Regions from separate parts of the Homo sapiens genome. Here region 2 is linked to region 1. Evidence: promoter capture Hi-C in 16 types of primary human blood cells and fetal thymus (Javierre and others, 2016). All regions are on one chromosome and are shown on one strand. Each heading gives the region's core, a stretch centred on a gene start or on the middle of the fragment in contact. The rest is flanking DNA. Distances are from core to core; before and after follow the strand shown. Region 1 holds the start of PTPN13 (protein tyrosine phosphatase non-receptor type 13). Region 2 overlaps SLC10A6 (solute carrier family 10 member 6).

Evidence for each region. Contacts are between HindIII fragments. The CHiCAGO score rates a contact against its expected background, and 5 or more counts as called.
Region 2: a fragment that was not itself captured here is called in contact with the fragment with the promoter of PTPN13 in region 1 in 1 of 17 cell types (megakaryocytes); the score reaches 5.9 in megakaryocytes.

Annotation. Positions count from the first base shown.
Region 1 is chr4:86,592,009-86,596,717 of GRCh38, reverse strand. It overlaps PTPN13 (protein tyrosine phosphatase non-receptor type 13), which reads right to left and starts at 2,403. Exons shown (of 48, transcript NM_080683.3): 1 at 1,929-2,403. It also overlaps a transcript of MAPK10 not described here. RefSeq lists an enhancer at 2,166-2,752. The HindIII fragment of the contact is 4,151 bases long and covers 838-4,709 here.
Region 2 is chr4:86,821,999-86,826,707 of GRCh38, reverse strand. It overlaps SLC10A6 (solute carrier family 10 member 6), which reads left to right. Exons shown (of 6, transcript NM_197965.3): 5 at 1,131-1,288; 6 at 2,806-3,240. The coding sequence ends at 3,020. Among named protein-coding and RNA genes, the nearest start is that of SLC10A6, 25 kb to the left of the region's middle. The HindIII fragment of the contact is 3,092 bases long and covers 761-3,852 here.

The DNA of each region.
Region 1 (4,709 bases), core at 1,154-3,653:
CCCATTGATACGGGAGAAGCTACAACACTTCCCCATCCAATCCTTAACACATTAAAGACAGAACAAATCAACACCCGTTTTTCTCAATAACAAAGAATACATAAATTTCATTCATTTAAAGATGAACACCTATCATTTATATTATCTACTCCAAAACAAATGATTAGCTAATTCTCACATTCACATACCGTATTTAGGAGGCAGCCCTCAAAAACAACAACAAAAAGATGACCTAAGTTTTATAACGTGACCCCATCATAGAATTAAAATCTGACTTTTAAATTGACACTGGTTTTAATGGTGTGCGTGTATGTTACTTGTGACATGAAAAGCCATTTATATTTTTGGATGCTGGTAATCACCCTCCAAAATATAACTAGGCTTTACATGCAAGTAAAAATGGTGGGACAAATGCAAATTCAAAGATAAACCTACATAATGGTAAAGCAAGCTATCATTCTCTAATTGTAAAAGTGAAAAACACTATGAAATCAGTCCTTTTCTTAACAACTAACCTCAAATATTTTTCTGTTTTTAGTTCTAATTTCCATCCTATCCTCTCCCCACACATACTCCCACAAAGCCTCTAGAACATCAAGTAGAACACAATGTTATGAACAAAGTATAATAAACAAGATTGGACGTCAGTCAGTGCGCCTCTGTATAAATTTACTAAATCAATATATGTATGAATTTACTAACAAATGCTCCTAGTGATATTAAAACGAGAAATAATTTGTATATTGGCACCACTACAAGCAGCCAATGAGCATGAAGCAAGTTTTCACCTGGACCCTGCCAACACAGTCATGAAGACTTTAGGAAAATACCTAAGCTTGTTTCATAATACATGCACTTTTACTCCCCCCCCCATCCTTTAGTAAACTTTCTAGATATAAATTTTAAAATCTTAAAATTTATAATTAGTTACCAGCGCCCTTCATCCCACAGATCAGGTGTCCTACATTTTGTTCAGGTCCTGCCTTGAAAACAAACCCGATTGCCCCATTTTCTGCGAGGGAGCTCAGCTCCAGGCAGCTCCCTATGAAGTCACCGCGTTTGTTGTTTCAAAGATGCAATTAAATGAAAATGACACAAGGCTGTCGAACAGATTAGTTGGAAGTGTGCGGTGGTGTCGATCATATACGTGTATGGCCAATGAAAACTGTATTGCTGTAAATCTCTTAGTGATATTTCTCCCCATCCTCCTCTCTCCATTATATTCACAACAGAAGGAAATTAAACTTTGTAAGAATTTTCTTGACTTTGGTTTAACTTTAGCTTCCCAGCTGTCTGCTCTTACAGTATCACGTAATGAGCAAAGCGGTGGGGCTAGGGGGCCGGAGGGTAGAGTGTTAACTTTAGCAAGCAGAAGAAAAGCAATAAAAGACCTTGCATCAGACAGTGTCTCTCCCTCTGCCCCCTCTTCCTCTGCTTCCCCGCCATCCCACCCCCTTCTCGAGCCCTTACACACACATTCTTCTGGGCGGCCTCTAACCACACCATCTCCACAATCATTTGCAGAAATTAGAAACAGACTCCGGGAGCCCTTCCCTTAAGCACGCACAGAGCGGAGCTGTGCAAGCACGACGGGGCAATGTCACTCCCTATTACCCCACAATCTCTTACTCCCCCTGTGGGTTTCATTCCCGAGAATCCGGCTTTCTTCCGCAGAGGAGATGGATCTACCTAATTAGCAATGGAGTTTCATCTCATTCTTCCCCACTCCAGTCACCCCACCCCCACTCTAACGTACAAAAACACCCACCACCAAAACCAAAGAAAAGTTCCTTCTACCAGGGCAACCGAGGAGTTGGGTTTAGGGACTGGAGCGAAAGCAGAGAGAGGAGGAAGAGAACGAGCGCAATGTACTTTGTTTTGCACTTCTGCACATGCAGCGCAGAGCCCAGGGCGGCTCTCGTCCTTACCGGCTGGTCCCGAGACCGGGTCCTGCTACTGGAGCGCCGGGCGAGGGCTGCAGGGACGCGGCGTCGGGGCGGGCCGCCGGCAGCCGCCGCGGGCGCCGAGAGCCACCACCACTTCTCCCACAAGCGGCTGCGGGCGTGGGCTGAAGGAGCTGTAGAAGGAGCCTGGGGAGGGGGAGAAGAGGAGCAGCATCTCCTCCTCCTCCTCCTCGCCTCGGAAACGCTCCCCAGCGGCGATCCCGGCCGACTGCCTGACCCCCGAGCGCTCAACGCACCCCCGCCGCCCTACTGTGCTCGACGCCTCTCCAAGAGCTTCGCCAAAACCTTCTGGCGCGGGCGGCTCAACTCCTGTAGGCGACTCTGACCGCTGCCGAGGCGGACCGGGGAGCTACGGAGCACGGCTCGCCAGCACGACGGTCTCCAGGGGCCGTGAGCATGGTGTGTCACCCTCGCCTCAGCGTGGCCGCTGGAGCTACTCGCACCACTGGGGCTCCACCTCGGGCAGCCGCGCCGGCTCCGCCCCCCCGGTCCTGTCACTCAACCATTCCCCGGCACTGGGAGGACCGCAGATCTCCCACCCCGAGCTCCCCTCGACCTCATTGGCCCGCCTGGCATCCAGCTCCACCTCCTCCCTAGGGACGAGGTCGCCAGGGAGACCAGCGCCCCGGTTGCCATGACAACCAGTGCCTTGGGCCTGGCTTTTCGCGTTCTTCGGACTAGCCAGAGGCTCAGGTTGGTGACCGAGCGGCAGAGTTCCTAGCGCCTGCAGTGTGGTGAACTCCAACTTTTAGGCCAAGTTGAAAATGCAGCCGACGACCCCCACACTTCTAACTTCAGAATCAAAACTATGACCCTAGGGAGTGAGGAGGAGAGTGAAAAATGCGTAAGTGCTGGCTCCTCCCTTACTCTTCGCTGCCTCTCAGCCTTGTTTCTATATTCTCACGGGGCGCTTTGGTCTTTGAAAGGAAGAGGAGAATGGGGGAGAGGAAGAGCATGGCTTTGCCAGCTCCTTGCAGCAATATAGCAACTTAGAAATGGCGGGGTCAACGAAAAAAGCCCGGTGAGTTTTCCCACGGTTGTAAAGCTATCTTCAAAAGTGTGGTGACAGCACAACGCCAAATGCCCTAGGGAAAACTGAAATTCTCATATTTTTGAAAAAAGTTTGTAAATACTTGCCTTGTTATTTTATCTATGAGACTAAAATAATCCCGAAGTTTGAAAATTTAAGGAAAAGGTTTAACATAGTCGATAACCTCCCACTTTTCTATATACACTGAAATTTGGCCAAGGTATATCCAGACAGCTGTACCCCTCCTTGCTGCAAGCCGAAATATTTGAGTTTCAATAGTTAAACAAGAGAGTCTTGCTGAATTCATGAACAAATAATATCCTGTGATTTGAGTTTTGAAAGTTTTGGGTTATTCTCAGAGGTATAAGGTAAACTGGTCCACTCTGGAAAGGGTACCTGAAGATAAATTTAGTCTGAGACCCTTAATGTTGAGCCCTAGGTAAATCTGAATTTCATGGCTGGCTCCAAAGTGGAGAGATCTGAGGCTTATTTGGCTTCCCCAAAAAAAGTCAAAGCAGCAATCCTAGGTTCCCTAGCCCCTGAGGCTGCCATACATGTATGATGAATGAGGGAATTAATAGTAATGATTTATCTTTGGCGAGCACTTGAGTTTTCATTATATCATTTACTAAATGAATAACTATGATAGATATCTTCAGTCAAATATGCCTTACAAGTATGCATTGAATGTGATTACTCATAGGGCTAAACACAACGGAAAATACACAGCAGGATTTTAAGCTAAGTCCCCGCTCCCAAGGAGCTAACCTGGAGCCTAAGAAAGAAAACTAGCACTCTTGAAACAATTTGAGAACAATTATAGCTAAAATGTGCAGCCAAACTTTGAGTAGGTAGCAGCTAAGAGAAAGTTTGCTATGTAAAATGGGCTGGATTCCTCAGTTTATGGAAGAGGGGAATTTACACTGGGCTTTGATGAATGCAGCAAAGATGAGGAAAGTCAGTTGAGGGGAACAACAAAAACTAAACAGCAGCAGCAGGGATAAGTGGTGAAAGTAAATAACAGGCCAGGCTCCTTGGATGGGAAACACAAGTGGATGATTGGAGCCCTTTTCTCAGTTCTTCCCCCATTTTTAAATGTTCTGGATCATCTATCAGGGAGGTAGGAAAGGCAGGTTGGGAAGAACAGAAACTTTCATGAAACATCTGTCTCTGTTTGCCTCTGAAAGAAAGTTCATGTATTTATTGGAAAGAAAAGCAATATCCTTAATTAATGGCTGCAATAGCTTGTGGATTCACATCAGAAAGAAGGTATAGCAAGTATAGTGTTGTAAATTTCCGCAAAAGTAGACAAACCACAGTGTTGTTAGCTTTTTTCCTTTTCTTTTTCTTCTTCGTGTTTTTTTTTTTATTAAGGCCATTTCAGGTGGTTGCCCTCAAGGCATTTTCACCAGTAATCCCTCTGTTTTGGATGAGCTGAAAGACTGGTTTTAAAATACAATCTGTTAAAAAGTACACACAAGGGAAATCTACAGGTTAAATTCCTTTTGGATATAATGTAAAAGTCAATACTAACAAATGGAACCCAGCACTACATTACAAATAATATAACAAAATTAAGAGAAATTATTTCATGTGTATAGTTATGGCAATAGTTCAATAACAGAAAATTTTCTCATATGCTTGATTATATTAGTAAGTCAAAGGAGGAAAACATTATGAGGATCTCAGTTGATGCTGAAAAGGATTTTGTAAAG
Region 2 (4,709 bases), core at 1,057-3,556, 230 kb before region 1:
TTATGCAACCAGAAAACCAATAAAGTATAGAAAAGTAGAAAGCAAAAAGAAAAATTATTACCAAACTCTTTCACCAAAGATAATCATTTTAGGAATTTGGTCTTTATTCAGGGTTTTTGTGTTTTTATTTATTTATTTATTTATTTATTTATTTATTTATTGAGACCTCGTTGCCCAGGCTGGAGTGCAACCTCTGCCTCCTGGATTCAAGTGATTCTCGTGCCTCAGCCTCCCGAGTAGCTGGGATTACAGGAGCGTGTGCCACCACGCCAGGCTAATTTTTGTATTTTTGGTAGGGACAGGGTTTCACCATGTTGGCCAGGCTGGTCTCGAACTCCTGACCTCAGGTGATCCACCCACCTTGGTCTCTCAAAGTGCTGAGATTACAGGCGTGAGCCACTGTGCCTGGCCTTGTTTATTTGTTTTTAAGTGTTGGTTAGTTTATATTGTTTCATATGTCTTTCAAAAATATATATACGTTTTTCTTTTTGTAGAGACAGGGTCTTACTCTGTTGCCCAGGGTGGTCTTGAATTCCTGGCTCAAGCAATCTTCCCGCTTCTGCCTCTCAGTGCTGGGATTCCAGGCATGAGCCACCATGTCCTGCATCATATCTCTAACTCAACTTTCCATTCTTGTCTCCTCCAGTCCTCTCCTCTCTGCAGATTGGCTTACAGTATATGCAATGCCTGCTGAACAGGCCACACTCACACCTCTCCCTGGAACTTTAATTTTTATAATATTTCCCCCTCATCAAAAGCTTCTTCTATTTTTTTCCATCCTTAAATCCCACTCCTCTGTGAAGCCTTCTCTCACCCCTTCTGCCATTTTCTAAATTTCTACATCTGCGTGGCCTTTGGCCATACTTTGTCTTGTGTTGTTGCTGAACCTCTCCTGTGTGTTTATCTTGTCTTTTTACTCAGATGCCTAGGGCAGGGTTTGCAAAGCCTCACTCCACCGTGCCTCTCAGAAGACCACCTGCAGAATAGGCACTCAGCAAATAACTATGGAATGAGTACACATTTTCAGTGGCCTGAGGTCATAGCTTCTAATTGTTATGATGCATATGAGAAAATATTAGAATAGTTCTTATTGCTAGTGCGTTACTCTTGAAACATTTTCTTTTTGGTAGGTGCAGGACAATTTCCTTAGAAACTGGAGCTCAGAATATTCAGATGTGCATCACCATGCTCCAGTTATCTTTCACTGCTGAGCACTTGGTCCAGATGTTGAGTTTCCCACTGGCCTATGGACTCTTCCAGCTGATAGATGGATTTCTTATTGTTGCAGGTGGGTGAACACCCATTGGGTAGGAAATAACTGACGGGAAATTGTTCACCCCAACTTACCAACTTTTTTTTCAATCCAAACTTGCATGTGCTGCCCCTGTGATACACTTTTTGAAAGCCTGACATTTCTGGGGACGATAAGGCACATAGACAGGATAGTTTGGCGCACAAGTGGGAGTTTCACAGAAAAATATAAAAAGCCATCTGAAAATGAGCTTATAATTATAAACAAATATACTTCACAAAAGTGAATCCACTATCAGAACTTAGACTTCGTAACTTGTTAAGACAAGATCTCTATGAGCAATCATTGAGCTCCAAAGTGACATTTGCTGCACTTAAGCGTTGATTTGTTAGGTCTCATTAAAAGCCTTGAGGTCTCCCAAATGCCAAGTTATTTCAATGTTTCTGTGACTAAGACTTGTGCTGAATGGCTGTGAAATGTTTTTCAAATATTAAATATTACACATATACAAATATTGAAATATATATGTGTATGCACATGTGATTGCAGCCAAATATACATTACTTTGGAGTCTTTTATTATGTTTGTTCACAGAGGGTAAATTTAAAAATATATATAATGCAAGAACAGAAAACCAAATACCTCACTTACAAGTGGGAGCTAAACATTGGGTGCTCATGGACATAAAGATGGCAATAATAGAAACTGGGGACTACTAGAAGAGGGAGGGAGGGGGCGAAGGTTGAAAAACAAACTGTTGGGTACTGTGCTCACTACCTGCGTGATAAGATCATTTGTTTCCCAAACTTCAGCATCACACAATATACCCAGGAAACAAACATGCACATGGATCTAAAAGTCGAAAAAGAAAAAAAAAAATATATATGTTCACATACACATATATATTTTAATCTTGGGCCATGGTAAATTTTTGCTGCTGTTAGGGAATTGGGTCTGAGTAAGACTCAATGATTACTGATAGAACTGATTATATACTGATTGCTGATTGTTATTATTATATACTGATTACAGATATAACAATCAATATAACAATATCAGGAATACCTGGGGCTTAATTTCCCCAACAGATAAGATAAATCCTATTAGAGTCAAACTCTTGGTCTCAGACCCAAGTTTTCTTTCCTTCTCATGGAGAGACTGAAGCAAGCATCATTTCTGGCTCATTCCCAGCTCTAGCCCAGAACCCAGGAGAGTGTCCTACTTCTAGTAAGCACTCGCAGTATTTGCCAGCTGACTAGCTGAATGAGTGAATGAATGAATGAATGAATGAATGAATATATGAGTGTGTAAGCTGTCAGCAACCTGATGAATGAGCCTCAATCACAAATGGTTCATCCAGACAAAAGAGCCATTCTGATACACTGAATCCTTCTGTTCTATAGCTTTCTCTCTTTCCCCCTTCTTTTCCCTGGGTGTTTATACATACATGATGCCACTGAAACAAACACCTGAAGGATTGACAAGTGTACAGTGTCACCAAATTAGACTCTTTGTTAAAGTGATTGTTAATACTTGTATGTTTTAACACCTAGCATATCAGACGTACAAGAGGAGATTGAAGAACAAACATGGAAAAAAGAACTCAGGTTGCACAGAAGTCTGCCATACGAGGAAATCGACTTCTTCCAGAGAGACCAATGCCTTCTTGGAGGTGAATGAAGAAGGTGCCATCACTCCTGGGCCACCAGGGCCAATGGATTGCCACAGGGCTCTCGAGCCAGTTGGCCACATCACTTCATGTGAATAGCAGGGACTAGCTGGCTGGACTGGCCCCCTTCTTTTTCAGTGGCCAGTAAAGACAGTGTGCAGCTGACACATGAATCTTGTTGGTAGGGCCAGTGTGAATATTTAAGTGTTCAATGTTAGAATATTTATATTTTCATGTGGATTGTGAATTGTGATGGGATCACTTTTGGAGATTCCCATTTCAGGGAGTTTCTTCTGGGGGTTAACATAACGTATCAATGAGCTGCCTTGTATGTTCTTGTCTTCCCATGCAGCAAATAGTACCTGGCAGTAGGTAAAATCCTTCATTAGGGGAACTTATCCTTATGTTGTGGATTTTTTTTTTTTGAGACAGAGTCTTGCTCTGTTGCCCAGGCTGGAGTGCAGTGGCACAATCTCGGCTCACCACAACCTCCGCCTCCTGGGTTCAAGTGATTCCCTTGCCTCAGCCTCCCAAGTAGCTGGGATCACAGGTGTGTGCCACCATGCCTGGCTAATATTTTGTATTTTAGTAGAGATGGGGTTTCACCATGTTGGCCAGTCTGGTTTCGAACTCCTGGTCTCAAGTGATCTGCCCGCCTCAGCCTCCCAAAGTGCTGGGATTACAGGCATGAGCCACTGCGCCCAGCCACGTTGTGGATTTTAATTGAACAAGAGTTAGAACTCTAAGTAGAGGAGATGTCACCTCATACTGCAGGGTGACGCAGACCTATGTGACTTCTTGACTCTGGGCAGGTCCTCAGGTGCACTGAGAGGAGAACAAATAGCTCTTATAATAAATGGGGCAGTTTTCTCAAATGATTATTATTTTTAAGAAATTGAAAATCATTTTGATTATAGATGTAACACAAGCTTGGAAAGAATTTAAAACACACATACGGTTAAAAATGGAATGCCCTGTATTTTCACTTTCTAAAGATTGACACATGGTTGGGCACAGTGGCTCATGCCTGTAATCCCAGCACTTTGGGAGGCTGAGGTGGGCAGATCACCTGAGGTCAGGAGTTCAAGACCAGTCTGGCCAACATGGTGAAACCCCATCTCTACTAAAAATACAAAAATTAGCCAGTCATGGTGGCATGCACCTGTAATCCCAGCTACTTGGGAGGCTGTGGCAGAAGAATCACTTGAACCCAGGAGGCAGAGGTTGCAGTGAGCTGAGATCACGCCACTGCGCTCCAGCCTGGGTGACAGAGTAAGACTCTGACTCAAAAAAAAAAAGAAAGACCCATGTGTATCCTTCTAAGCTGTGTATGTAAACTGTATCATTTTAAGAACCTTGAGATCATTCCATATATTGTTTTGTAAGTCACTTGATGACACATTATGGAACATCTTTGAGTGTCAGTCTGTGTTGACCTACCTCATTCTTTAGTATAGTAGTGATGTGGAAGTATTCTATTGTGTGGAAGGACTGTAATTTATTTAACCACTCCTTATTCATGGACACTTAGATAGCTTTCAGCTTAACAGTATTACAGTGCTGTTACAAACACTTTTGCCTTTAGGTGCAAGTATTTCTGTAGGCTCACTTCCTGTGACTTGAATTTCCAAGCCAATTGCTTACCGAAATGTATGACAGATTGCTATCTGGCAACGTTGTACAGCAGTGCCTGAGAGGGCCTGGTTTCCCACAGTCTCACCAGTCAAATGAATGATCAATTTTGATTGGTTAAAACATCTCATTTAAAATTTCATTTAGGCTGGGCGC